Linked DNA regions of Homo sapiens: all the other regions are linked to region 3. The links are contacts of gene promoters, found by promoter capture Hi-C in human tissues and cell types (Jung and others, 2019). All regions are on one chromosome and are shown on one strand. Each heading gives the region's core, a stretch centred on a gene start or on the middle of the fragment in contact. The rest is flanking DNA. Distances are from core to core; before and after follow the strand shown.

Region 1 (4,133 bases), core at 963-3,462, 74 kb after region 3:
AGAGAGGACAGAGTCTGGGTGCGGTGGCTCACGCCTGTAATCCCAGCACTTTGGGAAGCTGAGGTGGGTGGATCAAGTGGTCAGGAGATCGAGACCATCCTGGCTAACACAGTGAAACCCCGTCTCTACTAAAAATAAAAAAAAAAAAAAATTAGCTGGACGTGTTGGTGGGCGCTTGTAGTCCCAGCTACTCGGGAGGCTGAGGCAGGAGAATGGCATGAACCCCGGAGGCGGAGCTTGCAGTGAGCTGAGATGGTGCCACTGCACTCCAGCCTGAGTGACAGAGTGAGACTCCATCTCAAAAAAAAAAAAAAAAAGAGAGAGAGAACAGAAAGCTGAATTGGAGATAGTGAGTATACACAATGTTTTGGAGAGTTTCACTTTAAAGAGAATCAAAGATATGGGGCAATGGCTGATAATAGAACTATGGTTAAAAGGTTTTTACTGTTGAGATAAGAAATACCAGCACAAGCACTATTTACAATAGCAAAGAATTGGAACCAACCTAAATGCCCATGAATGATAGACTGGATAAAGAAAATGTGGCACATATACCACATATACACTATGGAATACTATGCAGCCATAAAAAAGAATTTCACCGAGCACAGTGGCTCACGCCTGTAATCCCAGCACTTTGGGAGGCTGAGGTGGGTGGATCACGAGGTCAGGAGTTCCAGACCAGCCTGGTCAATATGGTGAAACCCCGTCTTTACTAAAAATACAAAAATTAGCTGGGTGTGGTGGTCTGTGCCTGTAGTCCCAGCTACTCAGTAGGCTGAGGCAAAAGAATCGCCTGAACCCAGGAGGCGGACGTCGCAGTGAGCCGAGATCATGCCACTATACTCCAGCCTGGGCAACAGAGCAAGACTCTGTCTCAAAAAAAAAAAAAAAAAAAAGAATAAGTTTATATCCTTTGCAGGGACGCGGAAACCATCATTCTCAGCAAACTAACACAGGAACAGAAAACCAAACACCGCATGTTCTCACTCATAAGTGGGAGTTGAACAGTAAGAACACATGGACACAGGGAAGGGAACATCACACACCAGGGCCTGTCGGGGGGTGGGGGACAAGGGGAGGGAGAGCATTAGGACAAATACCTAATGCATGCAGGGCTTAAAACCTAGATAACGGGTTGATAGGTGCAACAAACCACCATGGCACAGGTATACCTAGGTAACAAACCTGCACGCTATGTACATGTACCCCAGAACTTAAAGTAAAAATTAAAAAAAGAAATTCCAGCACAGTTTTATGTTCATGAGAATATTTTAATTAAGTGTGATACATTAATAATATATAGAGAGAGGGGAGAATTACTGAAGGCTACCACTGGATATGCAAGAAGGGTTGGGAACTAATAGACCAGTGCAAGGAATGGCATTAAATACAAATTTTTACAGTGTGTCTGTGTCCTCAACCTGTGGTGTGGGTATCACTGAAGTCTGTGAACCCTTCCCTCTAATCAATCTGCTGATATTTAGGTATAAGTAATGCTTTATAAAGTTCCTGAAAGTTATTTATTTTGCTCTATGGGATCTCCTTTAGCTCTTGTCTTAATCCATTCAGGCTGCTATAACAGAATACCATAGACTGGGTGGCTTATAAGCAACAGACATTTAGTTCTCATAGATTTGTAGGCTGGGAAATCCAGGGTCAAGGTGCTGGCAGATTTGGTGTCTGCTGAGGGCCTGCTTCCTGGTTCACCAATGGCTGTTTTTACGCTGTGTCCTCACATGGAGGAAAGGGTGAAAGAGCTCTCCAAGGTTCCTTTTATAAGGGCACTAATCCCATTAATGAGGCTCCACCCTCATGATCTAATCACCAGCAAAAAGCCCCTCACCTTCTAGTACCATCACCTTGGGGTTAGGTTTCAACAAATCAATTTTGGGAAAACACAAAGATTCTGACCATAGCAGTTCTCGTTTGGCCTATTTGTGTGTATGTACATATATTTACTTCCAGCCTCCATCTGTTTCCTGTAAAGTTTCCATTCCATTATGAGATGTCAGTTATAAGAATCATCCTCGCTCATCATCGTGGTGGCATCATTTCCACCATGATCACCTTTCACCCTCTCTCTGTGCACCAGCTGTCTCACCTTACGGTGGTTCCCCAAAAACACCATGCGTCCTTCAGTCACAGACACTTTTCACATGCTGCTGTTATCCTGGCTAATGCCTTCATAGCCTTGAGATCTGAAGTGATCTGCTCAGGGAAGCTTTCCTCATCTGTCTGGTGAAAATAAGTCACCCTGTGTTCACTTTTTATTGTTCTTGTTGTTGTAAAGATTTATTTTTATTGTTCAACAGTAAATTGACAAATTATATATATTTATGGAATACAAAGGAATGTTATGATGCTTAAATACAATGTGAAATAATTAAATGAAACTTAATAACGTGTGTATCAGCCCACATACCCGTTTTTTGTGGTGAGAACATTTGAAATTGACTCTCAACGGTTTTGAAGTGTACTCTACATTTTCATTGGCTGTATTCACCATGCTGTGCAATACATTCCAAAGAAAATAAAACTTACTTGTCCAATCTAAATGAGGCTTGATACCCTTTGACCGTTATCTCCCTACTAACTCTATCCCTTCATCCTCTGGTAACCACCATTCTTCTCTCTACTTCTTTGATTGTTTTATATTCCATATATGAGTGAGGTAACACAGTATTTGTCTTTCTTCTTGGCTTATTTCATTTAGTATAATGTTCTCCAATTCCGTCTATGTTGTCACAAATGACAGAATTTCTTTCTTAAGGTTTAATAATGTTCTATTGGGTATATATACCACGTTTTCTTTTTTCCCCACATTTTCTTTATTCATTCATCTGATGATGGACCCTTAGGTTGATTTCATAACTTGGCTTTGGGAAATAGTGCTGCAACAAACATGGAAGTGCACATACCTCTTTAACACACTGATTTTAAATTGTGGGGGTATATATCCAGAAGTGAGATTGCCGGATCATATGATAATTCTATTTTTAGTTTATTTTTCCATAATGGCTGTTCTAACTTTCATTCCCACCAGCAGTGCATACAGGTTCCCTTTCCTCGACACCCTCCCCAACACGAATTGTTCATTGTTTTGACAATAACCATTTTAACACGTGTGAGGTGATATTTCATTGCAGATTTTATTTGCATTTCTGATGATTAGTGGTGTCAAACACTTCTTCATATATCTGTTGATCATTTTTATGTCTTCTCTTGAGAAATGTCTATTTAAGTAATTTCTCTATTTTTAATAGGGTTATTTGTTTGTTTTTCTGTAGAGCTGAGTTCCTTATATATTTTGGATATTAACCCCTTATCAGATGTATGGCTTTCAAGTATTTTCTCCCAAACAATAGGTAGTTTTTTTACTCTATTAATTGTTTCCTTTGTTTTGCAAAATCTTTTTATTTTGATGTAATGACATTTGTCTATTTTTGCTTTTGTTGCCTGTGATTTTGGGGTCAAATCCAAAAACTCATTGCCCAGACCAATGTTGTGTAGCTTTTCCCTTATGTTTTCTCTTAGTAGTTTTAGAATTTCAGGTCTTATGCTTAAGTATTTAATCCAATTTGAGTTTATTTTTGTACAGGGTGTGAGATAAGGATCCAACATTCTTATGAATGTGAATATGCACTTTTCCCAACACCACTTATTGAAGAGACTGTCCCTTTTCCAATATGTATACTTGGCACCTTTGTTAAAAATTTATTGACTACATATGCATGTATTCTTTTCTGGGTTTTATCTTCTATTCTATTGGTTGATGAGTCTATTTTCTTTTTCTTTTCTTTCTTTCTTTTTTTGAGATAGAGTCTTGCTCTGTCACCCAGGCGGGAGTGCAGTGGTGTAATCTAGGCTCACTGCAGCCTCTGCCTCCCGGGTTCAAGCAATTCTCCTGCCTCAGTTGCCTGAGTAGCTGGGATTACCGGCATGTGCCACCATGCCTGGCTAATTTTTGTATTTTTTGTAGAGACGGGCTTTCACCATGTTGGTCAGGCTGGTCTCAAACTCCTAACCTCATGATCTTCCTGCCTCAGACTCCCAACGTGCTGGGATTACAGGCGTGAGCCACTGCACCCAGCCAACGAGTCTATTTTCATGCCAGTATCACACTGTTTTAA
Region 2 (4,069 bases), core at 230-2,729, 110 kb after region 3:
AGGAAACTGAAACTTCATCAATTTTAATAAGTATTATTAGTGATGCTTGACAACTTTTCCCCTCCTTCAAACTATATGCATTTTGTTTATGTGCAAGAGGTATACTTTTTGTTAAGGTTTTTGTTGATTAAGAAGCCTTTATGTATTATAGAAATAAATTCTCAACCCATTTTATGACTTTTTTATAGTTTGATACTTTTTTAGGGGTGGGGAAGTTGCTCATGTCAAATTCATTAGCTCATTTTAAACTGGTTACATTTGTAAGGCAGAGCAATTGGTGTGAGTCCCGCCCTGCAGTCAGATGGGCGAGTCTATTAACTGTGTGCCATGGACATGTCTACGAGCCTCCCTCAGCTTCAGTGCTCTCAGCTGCTACAAGGGGTTAATAGTGACTACCTCTTGGGATGGTTGGAAGGATTAAATGGGATAAACCATCTCAGAACAGCGCCTGGCACACAGTAGACCCTATGCAGTTATTGCTACAATTATGGTCAAACTTTTAAGAGTTTTATAGAATATGTCATTGTAAGACATTCTTGACTCCAAGACTTTAAAATAAAAAGAAAATCCTTTCCTGGTTTTGTATTTGTCTGAAATTTTGATGTAAGTGGAATTTATACTGCTGTTAAAATATGGTATTTGGAGCCCATGACTCCTGAATTCACCCGACAACCTTTATTAAATAATCCTGTTATTTTTATCTTTATCATCAACTCAATACATATGTCCATTTATGAACCTTTTTAGCATATATTTTTTATCAATTCAAGTCCCACTATCTGCTTTTCATATTGCTGGCAATATGACACTGTTTGAAGACCTGGTAAAGTTCATTGAATGGATGCTTTTCAATTCTAAAATATTCTGGTCCTGTTGGCTTCCTGCCCCCCCCAACAGATCAACTTTCACAATAGTTTTTTGTTTAGTTATAAAGAACTAGTTTGTACTTGTGTTGTTATGAGATACACACACACAAACACAAAACACACACACACGTTTTCATTTACGGTTCTTGGCTCATAACTCCCATAGCCCTTGTTACAGTCTTTTTAAAAAAATACTGCGTGTGTTAGGCTTCAGGAGCAGGACTTAGGAAAGAGAATCTCTCTGACCTTCTCCTGACCTCTTTTCACCCACCTCAAGGCAGGAGGATTCCAATCTCCCCCAACCTTTCTGATGTGGATCATAAGATCCTCATCTGATAAAGGGTCATACCCCCCATACCTTGGGGGAAGGAATGCTGATGTCATGAAGCTTCCATAAAAACCCCAGAGCACTGGGCTCAAAGGCTTCTGGATAGCTGAACACCGGGAGGTTCCTGGAGGGTGGCACTCCAGGAGGGCATGGGAGCTCCACCCCATTCCCCCATAGCTTCCTCAAATGCATCTCTTCATCTGCATCCTTTGTAATATCCTTTATAATAAATCAGTAAACATAAGTGTTTCACTGAGTTCTGTGAGCTGCTCCAGCAAATTAATCAAATCCAAAGAGTGGGTCGTGGGAATGCCAACTTGAAGCCCACTGGTCAGAACTTCCAGAGGCCTGGACTTTGTGACTGGTGTCTAGGGAGTGGGGGGAGTCTTGAGGCCGGCCCCTCACCTGCAGGATCTGACACTATCTCCAGGTAGATAGCCTTGGAATTAAATTGGAGGATGCCCAGCTGGTGTCTGCTGCTTGGTGTGTGTGAAATGCCCCCACATTTAGCCACTGACATTTTCTGCATTGATGATTGTTGTGATTGAGAGCACAGGAAGGACACAGTTTAAGACTTTTCCCTAAGCAGTACTTTATTAGAAATTTTGTAAATTCATTAAAAAATTGACACATTGGTGATGTTAAAGTTCCCTATCAAATTATATAGTATATATTATCATTTGTTTAAGTATTTATGGTTTCCTGAAGGCACTTAACACATTTTTAAATTTATTCCCAGTTTTTATTTATTCCTAAATTTAAAGTACATGGTTCTTGTGTACTTTAAATTATTGTTGTGATAACAAAAATAGGCATTTCATTACATTTTCTATATTATACGAAACTTATCCACATTTATTATTTTTCTCCTAGAATTTTACTGATTTTTATTTTTTAAAGTTTTACAGAAATTTTCAGATTTTCAACATACAACATCTCAGAGAGAGGAATTTAAATCCTTCTTTGAAGGATGTATCATTTATATGTCTCATTTTTTGGCCTTGTATACAATTGCATTGATTGATACATCAAAATAATAACTAACAGTGAAGAAAGGAGAGAAAAATCTAATTGTTTTTGCCTGATCAAAAGAGATGATTATATGATTACCTTTTTTGGCTAATTAAATAAATACAATGCTGAAATATTTTTATTCTAATATTTTCTTAAAATTTTGCATCATTATTCATAAACTTGATCATTAGTTTGCATGTATTTGTGAATGTGTGTTTGTGTGTGTTCACTACCTTAGTTACACTCTGATATAAAATTACGTGTCATTCATAATTAAACAAGTCAGTGACCCTTCCTTCCATTTTAAACTTCTGGATTGTGTTACATAGCACTTTAATGATTTGTTCTTTAAAGGTTTTATGACAATCCCTATTAAAATTGTGATAACCATTTTATTAATTTTATGTTAACTAGTAGGTTACATTGTCATGTTTTGTAGCCAATGTTTGATAAATTATAAATGCCTGGAAAATCATCAATTTCAGTTTTGCAATTAATCTTCATCTAGTTGAGTGATGATTTCTTATGTTTGTTTAATAGAATGTTGTGAATTCCTCCTATTGAATGTGTGTATGTGATTTTGTTTTTATTTTTTCTCATTTTCCTCATTAATTTAGTTAGTGGTTTATCTATTTTATTAATTGTTTTCAAAGTCTCAGCCTTTATATTTAATATTTTAATCTTCCTATATTTTTTATTTCTTTTCATTAGTTATGTGTTTTTGTGTGTTCATTTCTCAAAAATTTAGATTTGGGTAATATACACATATAAATATATTTATGCTCTAAATAGCTGTATTATATACACTAAAGCAAATTGATCACAAATTTGGGAGATATATGAAGTTGCTTATATGATTATTTCCTTTGATATATTAAGAAAAAATATTTTTTCATATTGTACCATCTTTGTTTTCCTGGAATATAATCCACTACTTCCTGAAGTCTTATTTTTTAACAGTGCTATTCTTTCACTTTCTAATATTTCATTTCATATTTTTTGCATCAATATTTATAAATGAGATAGATCTCTAGTTATTTTTGTATTATACTATGTTGGTACTATGGTTTGAATGTGTCCCCGCAAGAGGATGTGTTGGAAACTTAATCCCCAATATAACAGTGTTGGAAGGTAAGGCCTAATGGGAAATGTTGAGGTAATGAGAGCTCTACCCTCATGAATGGATTAATACCAATTATAAAAGGGCTTGAAGTTTTGAGTTCAGGCTATTGCTCTCTTCACTCTCATTGCCCTTTTGCCACAGGATGGTGCAACAAGAAGGCCTTCACCAGATATTGGCCCCTCAATCTTAGATTTCCCAGCCTCCATAACAATAAGCCAATAAACTTCTGTTCACTGTAAACTACCCAGTCTCAGGCACAGAGGGGCCCCAGTTTATGATGGTTCAACTTATGATTACTCAACTTTACGATGGGTGTATCAGGACATAACCCCAATGTAAATCAATGAGCATCTGGACTTAACAATGGTTTGACTTATGATTTTTTTGTCTTTATAATGGGTTTATAGGGACATTAAATGCATTTTCAACTATGATATTTTCTACTTATGATGAGTTTATTGGGACACAGCCCCATCATAAGTCAAGGAGCATGTGTATTCTGTTACAGCAGCACAAAATGAACTAGAACTGGCAATATTTTGATACCATGTTATATACCATTCATAAGTTATATAGGTGCACCTTTATTTTATAAAATAGTGCTTCTCAGTCTGTTTGTGTTGCTATAAAGAAATGCCTGAGGATGGGTAATTTATTTAAAATACAGGTTTCTTTGGCTTATGGTTCTGGAGACTGTACAAGAAGCATGGCACCAACACCTGCTTCTGGTGAGAACTT
Region 3 (4,023 bases), core at 945-3,444:
GCCCCAAGCCTGCACTTTAATTTCAAGAATCCATTACATCTCGGAGGGTGACATGTGAGAATGCAGTTTTAATGAGATCACAATGTTAAAAACCATAGCCTATGGCCAAAGCCAAGTTGAGATTTAAATAGTAGGTTCAAACACTTTTCTTATTAAAAAATATATCAAATGAACTAAATATTTTATTTCTTTATTTATTTAATGTTTGAGACAGTCTCGCTCTGTTGCCCAGGCTGGAGTGCAGTGGCATGCTCTCAGCTGACTGCAAACTCCACCTCCCAGGTTCAAGCGAGTCTCCTGCCTCAGCCTGCCAAGCAGTTGGGATTAAGGGTGCCCACCACCACACCCGGCTAATTTTTGTATTTTTAGTAGAGACGGGGTTTTGCCACGTTGGCCAGGCTGGTCTCGACCTCCTGACCTCAGGTGATCTGCCCGCCTCACCTTCCCAAAGTGCTGGGATTACAGGCGTGAGCCACCGCACCTGGCCTAAATATTTTATTTAAATAGTTAGAAAATAATACATACCCAAACAAAATAAAGAATAATATTGATGGAGATTTAAATGCAATAAATGAGGATTATATTTATGAAGCATGGGGGTAATAAGTCTGTTCAAGAGACATTCTTAAAAACAATGAATATAATTAGCATATTTCTGTAAGATGTTCCCAAGAAAATGGTAGATATCTATAAATAGAAGAAGGAGAAAAAGGAGAAGTAGATGGAGAGGAGAAGGAGGAGGTGGAGGAGGGTGAGGAGGAGGAGAAAAGTGTTGAAATAATTCCAACTAAGACTGATATCTAGGAATTACCCTGGTGAAGTGGGAAGCTTAAGAGTCCTGTTGGAGGGACTGGTGTGGTAATGGCTCTGCCAAAAGTGTTATGTGCGTGCAAACCCAAAGAGAGAAAGCACAGAAAACCTTTCAACATCAACCTGCTTGAGGAAAAATAAAGTGGGAAAAGATACATACTCACAGTGAGGACTCTAGACATGTCAAGACAATTTTTAAATATGCTTTTGGCTTCGAGTGGCAATAACTAGATTCAAGACAGCATATTTAAGAAGCTGCTGATGAGAAGAAACCCGGGAAGAGCTGAAGGACCACATCAGCCCAGACCAAGGATGCTGAAGCAGCATTAAGGTCCCTGGTTTCAGATGCTCAGGCAATGACCCTTTTTTTCATGGAGAGCCTGTAGGAGTGACAGTTTTGTCTTTGCCCACTGGGAATCTGTTTTCCATACCTGGAAAACAGGGTTACCTATGTTTCCCCTGCTACCCTTTGGTCATCTCAGAGACACTACCAGATATTACCCATGGGACCTATTTTTTTTTTAAATCTCAGGAAAGACTTGGGTGTGGCTTCCAACGTGGAGGACTCAGTAGCTTCAGAGAGGGTCCTGAGAGAAGGTGAATTGAAGAATGAGGGTGCTGGGCAGAGGGAAAAGACATTATCATACAAGTTTGTGCTAAAAGATATAGCAATCCTTCTGCTATGGACTAAGTATGGAAAAAAATAAAATGGAATCAAAGTTACCCAAAGGAAGTGTAAAACCCAAATTTATGCCCGTTAAAGCATTAATGATGCTCTAAGTCCACTGCCTACTTAAAAAGTTCATAGTTCACATGGGTTGATAGGAAATTACGTTAACGACACACTGCATTTCCCCTTTTCTTATAGCCTATCTGATTTGGTAGGGAGTCGATCATTTTTTATTGGAATTTCTCAGGATTCCAACCTCAGACATCCACTTTACAGTTTACACATTTTCTTGGACAAGCCCGACTGTTCCTCTCACTGGTTCGCATAAAGCTCATGTTTACAAAGCCGCCCAGACCTTTCTCTGGGACTCTCATATTTAACTTAATTCTGGATATACCCAGGTAAGCGTTTCCCAAGAAACTTGACCCCAACATCCCAAAAACTTAAGGTATCTTTCCCTTAAACTGGCCCCTTCTCCAGTACGCATCCATCTCACTTCTCTCCTGCCCTAGATCTTCTCAGCCCAAACAGGAAACCCCGGGATCGCTCTCCCAGCAGGTGAAGCCTCGCCATGGACCCTCCCCGTCGGGGCCCCGCGCTGCCCCGCCCGCCCCCAGCCGCTGGCCAAGGCCGCGGTCGCGCAGGCGCAGTGCCGCGTCCCGCCGCCGCCCCGCCCTGCCCGTCGCTGCGGAAGGCGCCGCGCGCAGCAACGCGCACTTCCTCTCCAGGAATCCGCGGAGGGAGCGCAGGCTCGAAGAGCTCCTGGACGCAGAGGCCCTGCCCTTGCCAGACGGCGCAGACATGTCAGAACAAAGTAAGGATCTGAGCGACCCTAACTTTGCAGCCGAGGCCCCCAACTCCGAGGTGCACAGCAGCCCTGGGGTTTCGGAGGGGGTTCCTCCGTCCGCGACCCTGGCAGAGCCGCAGAGCCCTCCTCTAGGCCCGACGGCCGCTCCGCAGGCCGCGCCGCCTCCCCAGGCCCCGAACGACGAGGGCGACCCGAAGGCCCTGCAGCAGGCTGCGGAGGAGGGCCGCGCCCACCAGGCCCCGAGCGCGGCCCAGCCGGGCCCGGCACCGCCAGCCCCGGCGCAGCTGGTGCAGAAGGCGCACGAGCTCATGTGGTACGTGCTGGTCAAGGACCAGAAGAAGATGATCATCTGGTTTCCAGACATGGTGAAAGATGTCATCGGCAGCTACAAGAAGTGGTGCAGGAGCATCCTCCGGCGCACCAGCCTCATCCTCGCCCGGGTGTTCGGGCTGCACCTGAGGCTAACCAGCCTGCACACCATGGAGTTTGCGCTGGTCAAAGCGCTGGAGCCCGAGGAGCTGGACAGGGTGGCGCTGAGCAACCGCATGCCCATGACAGGCCTCCTGCTCATGATCCTGAGCCTCATCTACGTGAAGGGCCGCGGCGCCAGAGAGAGCGCCGTCTGGAACGTGCTGCGCATCCTGGGGCTGCGGCCCTGGAAGAAGCACTCCACCTTCGGGGACGTGCGGAAGCTCATCACTGAGGAGTTCGTCCAAATGAATTACCTGAAGTACCAGCGCGTCCCATACGTGGAGCCGCCCGAATACGAGTTCTTTTGGGGCTCCCGGGCCAGCCGCGAAATCACCAAGATGCAAATCATGGAGTTCCTGGCCAGGGTCTTTAAGAAAGACCCCCAGGCCTGGCCCTCCCGATACAGAGAAGCTCTGGAGGAGGCCAGAGCTCTGCGGGAGGCTAATCCCACTGCCCACTACCCTCGCAGCAGTGTCTCTGAGGACTAGCAAAGTCTGGAGGCAGATGAATGGTTTCTGACCCTCACCAGGGCTGTGGAAGGGTGGGGGTGGGTCATTATAGTATTCAGGATTTACAGTGCAGTATTCACGTGTAACTTTTAAGTTTTCAGTACAGTGCTTTTATACCTTTAATGCAATGTTGTATTCATTTGGGTACTATTGTGTAGTATTTAGGATGTATGCATGTTTGTTTATATGTAAGCTTGGTTGGTGCTTTCGCTTTTGTGCTACCTTTCTTGGATTTTTGTACCAGAGATGTGCTAAACTGATGAAATACATTGAGAAAGTTTCCATCTTATTCTTTTATATGGGACTGATGATGTGTGTTGGGGTAGACTGCTCCTGCAGAGTTTGGAAGAAGTCACCAGCAAAGCCGGCCTAACCAAGAAAAGTCAAGGCCCTTCATGACCTTGCTGGGCACAGAAAACACCCTCGTGGAGTACACTAATTTGAACTGGACTGGTCTCAGTGTGAGCACTTGGCACACTTTACTAAACACATATACAACCCCACCGTGAGTCAACTTTAAAGTAAACATTAAAGATTCTTGTGATACAATCATTTTTGGAAAAGTGTACTTTATCATTTTAACAAAGCAGTATGGTTGGGAATGAGACAATTCTCTATTTTACAGTGTATACAGATACAACTATTTCCCCTAATAGGGTGGGAAAAATCGCTACTCATGATTACTCCTAAATTTGTGAAGTTTATAGTTCTATTGTCTTTAAATGTAACTCATGTTTATTTCAAAAACATTCACA
Region 4 (3,597 bases), core at 31-2,530, 130 kb before region 3:
CTATAAATCTAACATTATAAAAATGAAAATACTATTTTAAAGGTATTACTGTGATAGAAAAGAACTTGCAAACAAACACCAGAATGAACACAAACACAAACTTGGGCTCCGCGAATGAACAGGCACATAGAAAGAATGCAAAGCTGCTTCCTTTATCTAGTCAGCATTCCAAATCCAGGGGCACCTTCTTCAGGTAGACATCATCAAGTTCCAGGGCTCTCCTACTCTTTTCTTCTTCCCCCTCATGCTCCTCATTACCCAGTTGCCTGTGTGAGTGTCAGTAACCACTTCTTTAAAGATAGATGCCTGTGCCTCACAGAAAGACCCATTTCAGACAACGTCTAGTCCTGTATCTGCGGAATCCCACCAAAGACTCTTTGGAAGACATGACTCTGGACAGTAGAAGTGAATATGGAGAAACGGGAGTAATAGGGAAAATAAATCATATTTAGGCACTTAAGATATTTTTTTTCTTGTTTGGTTACAGATTTTCCTTCCTTAAGATTTAAAAACACATCTGTACCTTCAAGCCTTTGAAAAATCCTGTGATAATTAAGCTCTTTTCATTTTAGAGACTCCATGAGGAATTATTTGGGACCACGTATTCTGTTAACAGCCACATCATGAAATTACATTAACCAGCACCAAGCCCTAAAACCACAAAAAAGTATAGTCTTGGTAGCAGGTGGGCTGTCTTGGTGTAAAAAAAGAGAAGTATTTGCAATCATGTTCATTTAAGCCAGTCCCTGCTTACTCATATCTGAAAATGAAGCTTTAGACACAAGGTTTTTATCAGGTTTAGGAAAGTGAGTGATTCAGATTGTGTTGTGCACAGGTAAAGAAATCCTGGTGAAATAAACAAAAGAGCAACATGGTACAACATATTCTCAAACCTCCATGCGCGGGTCTAAGAGATGGACATAGGATAAATGGTGACTCTGCATATGTGCTAGCTAAGCAATCTCACAGCAAGCAGGGCTGCCCACCCACTCACCACACAGCTCCTTGTTCACAGACCACAGCACTCTTCTGGGGAGCACCGGGCTGTTTCTGGCAACCATGCCTACAAAGCCTACAAAGTCGGGGGACTGCATGGCCACAATCCCATGGACATCTACAAAGCCAAGACTCTTGCTTTTATGATCTGTAATCATAGGTTATATTCTCCATACTAGATCTATAGCTTCAGTGGGAAAATGAGCTCCTGTAGTGTTTAGACCTACAGTGAGAGATGCACCTGACCTGGACCAGAGTTCTCATTTCTGAGATCAGGATAGCAGTTATTTAGTCGCTGTTATTGTGGGCATTTCTAATTCAAGAAACCTCACTCCTCCAAGCTCATATTTCACTCCTTGAGACAGGCAGGCACACTTAAATGTTTCGTCTTAAAACATGGAAGGTTACTCAGATTATTTAATTTTAACTGTACTTTCTATAATGCCAAATAGCTTGTCAAATCCCCTTTTCCTATTTATTCCAATGCATACACTAAAATCCATAATAATGTACACTGTGATTATCCCCTGACACACTTTTCACCAAAAAGAGGCATAGCAAAATGCCATAAACAGGCTGCAAGTAGAACTGGACAAGAAAAGACCCATCTCCATTTAGCAAATGAGGGTCAATGAGCTCTGGTCAGTGAGTGCTCAGGATGAAGACAGAGCAGGTGACAGACATAAGACTGTGCTAACATTGATGTCACAGGACACAGTGTTGGGCACCAAGTCCCCAGACATTACTCTCTGATAGCCTGGAATATATGATTTCCCACAACCGACTGCTGTACCTCTGACCTGATTTTACAGATGCTGGCCTGACCACCCAAATTCTAAGAAATCTGTCATCGCAAACATCCCAAAGTCTTACACCATATCATGTAGTAAGGCCCCACTACCCTGTCTGCCCACGGTAGCCTGAATAGAGAATGGTTCCCAGTGGATTCATGGGTCATATATTTGAGATCAGGACACACTGTAAAGTTAATTGAGCCTTCCTGAAGCCTGCAACTCTAGGTGCAATTTCAGTCAACATCCTAAATTACGAACGATATGAATTTCTTCTTAAGTATATTCATCAGGGAACAGCTAAGCCCGTTCCAATCTCCAAGTGCCCAGAAGTAGAGTTTGTCAGTGTTGCAAGTGGGCAGAGCAAAGCATTCTATGGAGACCAAATGCAACTACTTTTGCAATAACTGATCATAATATGATTTGTATGATAAATATCCAAATGATTAAGGGTGAAAGAACAATAGGAAAATATAACCAAGTTTTATGGATTTAAGAATTGATTTTGGCATGCAGCTTATAGGGAACATTGATCATATTTGTAAGATTAGAGCAGAAATTTGCAAAATATAACTTTCTGAAAGTTTTTAGAAAGCTATCACCCCTGTGCATACTTTCAAGTAACTTTTTGCCATTTCTATCTCCCTATTCCATGGACTTCTTGAATCACAGTTTATAAAAGCAACTCTCCTCAGGTAAATTATGATATTTGGTAGCCCACTAATAATTTTACTGTCTCTAATAGCTAGTCAGAAACAATATTTAAGCATGTTTCCTCAATGATAGAGCAGAATACAGCAAATGAGCTGCAATGACTATACACTGAGAATGAGCAATTGCTGAGAAAGTAGTGCATTCCATTGATGTTACTGCATACATCCCACCTATCTCAAACACAGATTCATGTGAAAATTAACAGTGTCAAACACTACTGGTGGGAAGACAGTTGTAATGTGATTGTCTTTGCATGCACATACACAAACATGGTCTGAAAAGCTTCTATGAATACCTTTGGGTGAGATAACGAAAAACAAAACCTGCAGAGTCTGTCAGTAGATTGGAAAAATACATTCACAAAAGAGTAGCACAGGACTTGCTCAAGAAATGTGGCATTGCCAAATCTTCTAATTAGCATAGATGATGAAACTGTGGGGAAAGTTACAGACAAGATGAGTTGAAAAGTGATTCAGAAGAGTTTAATCCGAAAGGTATAAATTTTGGAAAATACTTTGGTAATGTATTTTCTTATATTTTCCATCTCATGTAATCATAGAAGTGATTTATGACAAATGCTCACATTAATATAAGTTGCACAAAGTTTCTGTGTTATTATAAGATAAAAATTCTAAGTGATAGGAAATATTTGTGTCATAGTTTGTCCTTTTATTCTGTCACGGTAACAGAATATAGTGATGCATCTAATAATTGATGCATATAATACATCTTGCAATTACTTAGATAATGCTGTCAATATCAGCACTAACTTAGTGGTTAACACAGACCTGGTACCAGTCTACATGCTCTATGTATTATTATTTCATTAAATCTTCACAGCAACTCAAGAGGTAGCCACTATTATCTCTCCCATGGTCTAGCTCTGAATCTAAGCAGAAAGCCCTGCAGTAAAGGAATAGAATAATCTGAGCTTGACTCAATCTGTCTCCATTTCCTTGCTCACATCAACTACATTAGAATATCTTTTATATTATACAAAAAGTACTTTCTAGGTTTGGTTTAAGCCATCTTACCTTACATCATGGTCAGGAAATTATTTTCTAAATTACATTCTGAATATTCTATTCACTTGTTT
Region 5 (3,722 bases), core at 914-3,413, 110 kb before region 3:
CGGCTCACTGCAACTCCCGCCTCCTGGGTTCAAGCAAGTCTCCTGCTTCAGCCTCCCAACCGTCTCCTTTTATTGGAGGATATTATTTAGCTTCAGCCTCCCAACCGTCTCCTTTTATTGGAGGATATTATTTAGAAGCCAAGATCTTGGTGCTGTATGTGCTCAGGGCAGCTGGGGTGTTGCTGCCTCCATGTCTCCTCAACGGATGGAGTCAGAACACACAACATATCTTCACTCTTCACTCAGTCTTATGAGGGTTCCACCAGGCCCACAGAACTCTTAGCATCCCTTCATGAAACTCCATCCACTTGGTTATTTCATATCTTAAACCCGAGACCAACAGAGTTTAATTTCCCCCTCACACCTTAACCAGATACAGTGGCACCTCAAAACTAAATCTTTGTGGTTGCATATTGATAGGCTAAAAAGTTACTGGAATTGGGCAACTTACATGGAATCAAATAAGAGAGTCTGCATTGTGGAAAAAACAAACAAACAAAACAAAACAAACAAAAATACACATGATTGCTGCCCCAAAAGAGATGAAAGGTCAGGCAAGTCCTCCAGCTTTTCCAGCCCCCTGCCCTTCTCCCCACATCTGCTGAGAGCTGTGGAAACAGCATAGCTACAATGAAGACCCACTACAGGACACATAGAGTACAGAGCAGAGGCTCCAGGAAAACCTGCTGGCCCATCTTAAGCCCAGAGGAGTTTCCTGATCACCCCTATTACTCTCAGGAAAAAAAAAATGTGAAAAATTAGGGATGCCAATCCCAAATGTGTGTAGACAGGAAGTGTTGAACCCTTTAATGTTCCTGGTGCACAGCATGTCCTCGCCATCCCATGTTTGCTGGTCAATCCCCATGGTTTGTGAGACTTGAAGGCCAGAAGGCAGGAATGCTCCTAACAGAGAACACAGGGCATGAGCTGGGATTTATTAAGCAATCCTGTTTTCTTTACTTGGTTGTCCTGAAGTGCAAGTATTAGCCCTTTAGGCTGCCCCTCTGAAACTGCTTCTTCAGGTCACAGCTCACATCCTGGAATATTAGAGATTTTGTTCACTTTATACTTATGTCCGTACATCCCCACCCAAAGTCCTGGACCAAGGAGCTGTATGTCGAGAGAGCTATGGATAGGTATATCAACCTCAAAAAGCATATGCACAGCAGAAAGCTCCCCAGTAATCATGAGCTTTGGGTGTGCATAGGGAGAGAAGGGCCAACCTAGGTGGGGAGAAAAATAGACAAACAACCTCCCTCTCCACTCCTGTACAGTGATATGTGAGAAAAGCATGGGCTGAAATGACGAAGCTGATGGATTGAGGAAGAATCTTTGATGGATGATCTCTCCTGGCAGCATGGGCTGCCACCTGCCTTGTCCCAGCATGTGCCCTGTCCTGGTTAGACATCGCTACCTCTGTCCCCTGAGGGCTCAACCTGCTTAGATTTTCACTGGACACTACATCTCTCCAGGTATCTAGTTTCCAACTGTGGGTCTAACCCAATCACATCAGGCAGCCACGGCTTCCCCTCTGGCTCCTTGGCCTGGGGTGAGGAGAGCAGCTGGTGAGCGCCTGGCTCAGGTTTCTGAGATCAGGAAGGCCATTCCTTAGGTGCCGCTATTCTGGCCATTTGGTCAACAGGAGCCCCTCTGGCTCTCTGAGCTCTTACTTCGCCCCTGGTCAACTTTCACAGGATTTTCCATTCCTTGTCTTAAATAGATCATGGGCAGCTGTTCTTGTCATTTTATTCTACATCTTGCTTAACCCCTTGCCAGGCCTCATTCTCATTGTGACTTTAGATTCTATGAGAAACTGCAGAACATGGCCGATAGGAACACAGAGTCTGCCTCATTGACACCCCGGTGCAAATCCTGATTCTGCCTCTCAGGAGAGTGACTTTACGTAAATCATTTAACCCCTCTGTGCCACTGTCTCATCTGCAGCAGGAACATAATATTACTGATATCATGGGGTTCTAACGATGTTTAAATGAGTTAATTGTACAAAAGCCTCAGAACAGCACCTTGCAGCTCAGAAGTGCCATGGAAGTGTTGGCACCTACAAAGTACTGTTAATGCTCACACGTCTTTCCAAAATCTCAGCACTGCCCAGGTACAAGACAGGTAGGAGGTCTGATATTGTAGGTTAATGTTTTCAGGCCCAGTAGATGCTAAACACAGAATGCTAAAGACCAGAAGATGCCATTCAAAAAGGCAAGAAAGTTTTCACAGGTCTGCAAATATGAGGGCAAGTGCGTATTTTGAAGGTCCCGATTTTTCTGTAAAATCTCGCTAATAATCAAGAGAAGCTACAGGAAGCTTACATCTAGTACCTTAAATCACGTATTGTTAGAATGTGATTGATATTTCCATCACTCAACAACCCCAAAGTGAGCTCTAATTCCCAGCTCCCAAGAACAACTTTGGTCACAAAGAGCATGCTCAGAAAGAGAAGAGTGTGGGCCGGAAGAGATGGAGATGAAGATATCTGGAAATGAAGCTGACGTGGATCACTTTCAGCTTCTTATTCACGGTTCCATAATAACTTCACCTCCAGAACTCCATCTGGTAATGGGCTAAACAGGAGTCACAGAGGCAGTGGAGAATGCTGTGCTGAGCTGTGAACGTTTTTCTGTTCCCAATGAGACCCCTTGCACCTACTGGCTTCCTCTCCACCCAACATCCTACACTGCTGCTTGTAGTTACTTGACTCTCATATTTACTCTAAAGACACAAACAAATGAGCCAAATAAGAGATGAAAAACTATAAGCAGATCCTCAATGGCATTTCCTGTATTAAAATATTACATATTTTGGCCCCAATATTTATTAAAGGTACTATCATTTTTGCCTCAAAGTATCTTTCACAAAAAAATACTTTTAATGGAAAAACATTAACAAATAAGTTGTCCTTCTTTATTATCATTTTGACTGTATTACCAAATAAGGTTTTCCAATTTTATTCCATGGCAGTACAGAATATATATTCAGCTAAAGTAGGATAAGATTTTTTTAAAAAAAAAAAATCCACGTTGTGTGTTGTGAAAGTCCAAAGAGCAAATATCAAAAATTTAATTGCATATAACACTTGACCCTAGATATGTAATTTAATCCCCTTTCTTTTTCCCATTTAGTAATGAAAGTTTCAAACGAAGTTTAAAGAATCGTGTAGCTACCACCTAGATTCCACAGTTGACATTTTATTATACGTTTTCTACCAAGTATTTATCCCCATATCCATCCCTCCATTCAACTCATCCTATTCTTTGATACATTTTGAAGAAAATTGGAGATAGGCATACACATCACCCTTACATGTATCATTAATGAGATCATAATATTTGTTTACTTTTAAGATAACTTTCACCTATCATGAAATGTGCAACTATTAAGTGATGAGTTTTGACACATGGATGCAACCGTGGAACTCAAAACCCTTCAAAATATGAAAAATTCCCATCAACTCAGAAAATACTCTCAAACTCTTCCCATTTAATTCACAGCAACCACTGTTCTGATTTTTTCCTAACAATAGATTAGTTTTGCCTGTTCTCAAAACTCATATAAATGTAATTTAATTGTATGTACTATTTTGTGTTAGATTACTACTCAGAATGTTTTTGAAGCTTTTTCATATTGTTGTATGTATCAGTAGTTCCTTTTTGTTGCTGAGTAGTATTCCATTGTATACAAAAATCTGGGCACGTTGGCTCTTTCCAGGT

What was found. The method cuts DNA at HindIII sites, captures the fragments that hold promoters and counts their contacts. A contact is called where the count stands out against the background at its distance.
Region 1: a fragment that was not itself captured here is called in contact with the fragment with the promoter of NDN in region 3 in 3 of the 25 tissues and cell types used here (H1 embryonic stem cells, dorsolateral prefrontal cortex and liver).
Region 2: a fragment that was not itself captured here is called in contact with the fragment with the promoter of NDN in region 3 in 2 of the 25 tissues and cell types used here (IMR-90 fibroblasts and lymphoblastoid cells).
Region 4: a fragment that was not itself captured here is called in contact with the fragment with the promoter of NDN in region 3 in 8 of the 25 tissues and cell types used here (adrenal gland, aorta, dorsolateral prefrontal cortex and 5 more).
Region 5: a contact is called between a fragment that was not itself captured here and the fragment with the promoter of NDN in region 3, in 2 of the 25 tissues and cell types used here (heart right ventricle and mesendoderm cells).

The regions. Positions count from the first base shown.
Region 1 is chr15:23,611,245-23,615,377 of GRCh38, reverse strand. No RefSeq gene overlaps it. Among named protein-coding and RNA genes, the nearest start is that of MAGEL2, 35 kb to the left of the region's middle. The HindIII fragment of the contact is 8,720 bases long and covers 1-4,133 here.
Region 2 is chr15:23,575,785-23,579,853 of GRCh38, reverse strand. No RefSeq gene overlaps it. Among named protein-coding and RNA genes, the nearest start is that of MKRN3, 12 kb to the right of the region's middle. The HindIII fragment of the contact is 8,655 bases long and covers 1-4,069 here.
Region 3 is chr15:23,685,476-23,689,498 of GRCh38, reverse strand. NDN (necdin, MAGE family member) reads left to right here and starts at 2,194. Exons shown (of 1, transcript NM_002487.3): 1 at 2,194-4,023. The coding sequence starts at 2,282. The coding sequence ends at 3,247. The HindIII fragment of the contact is 8,447 bases long and covers 1-4,023 here.
Region 4 is chr15:23,812,879-23,816,475 of GRCh38, reverse strand. No RefSeq gene overlaps it. Among named protein-coding and RNA genes, the nearest start is that of NDN, 130 kb to the right of the region's middle. The HindIII fragment of the contact is 5,926 bases long and covers 1-3,597 here.
Region 5 is chr15:23,791,315-23,795,036 of GRCh38, reverse strand. No RefSeq gene overlaps it. Among named protein-coding and RNA genes, the nearest start is that of NDN, 110 kb to the right of the region's middle. The HindIII fragment of the contact is 3,366 bases long and covers 481-3,722 here.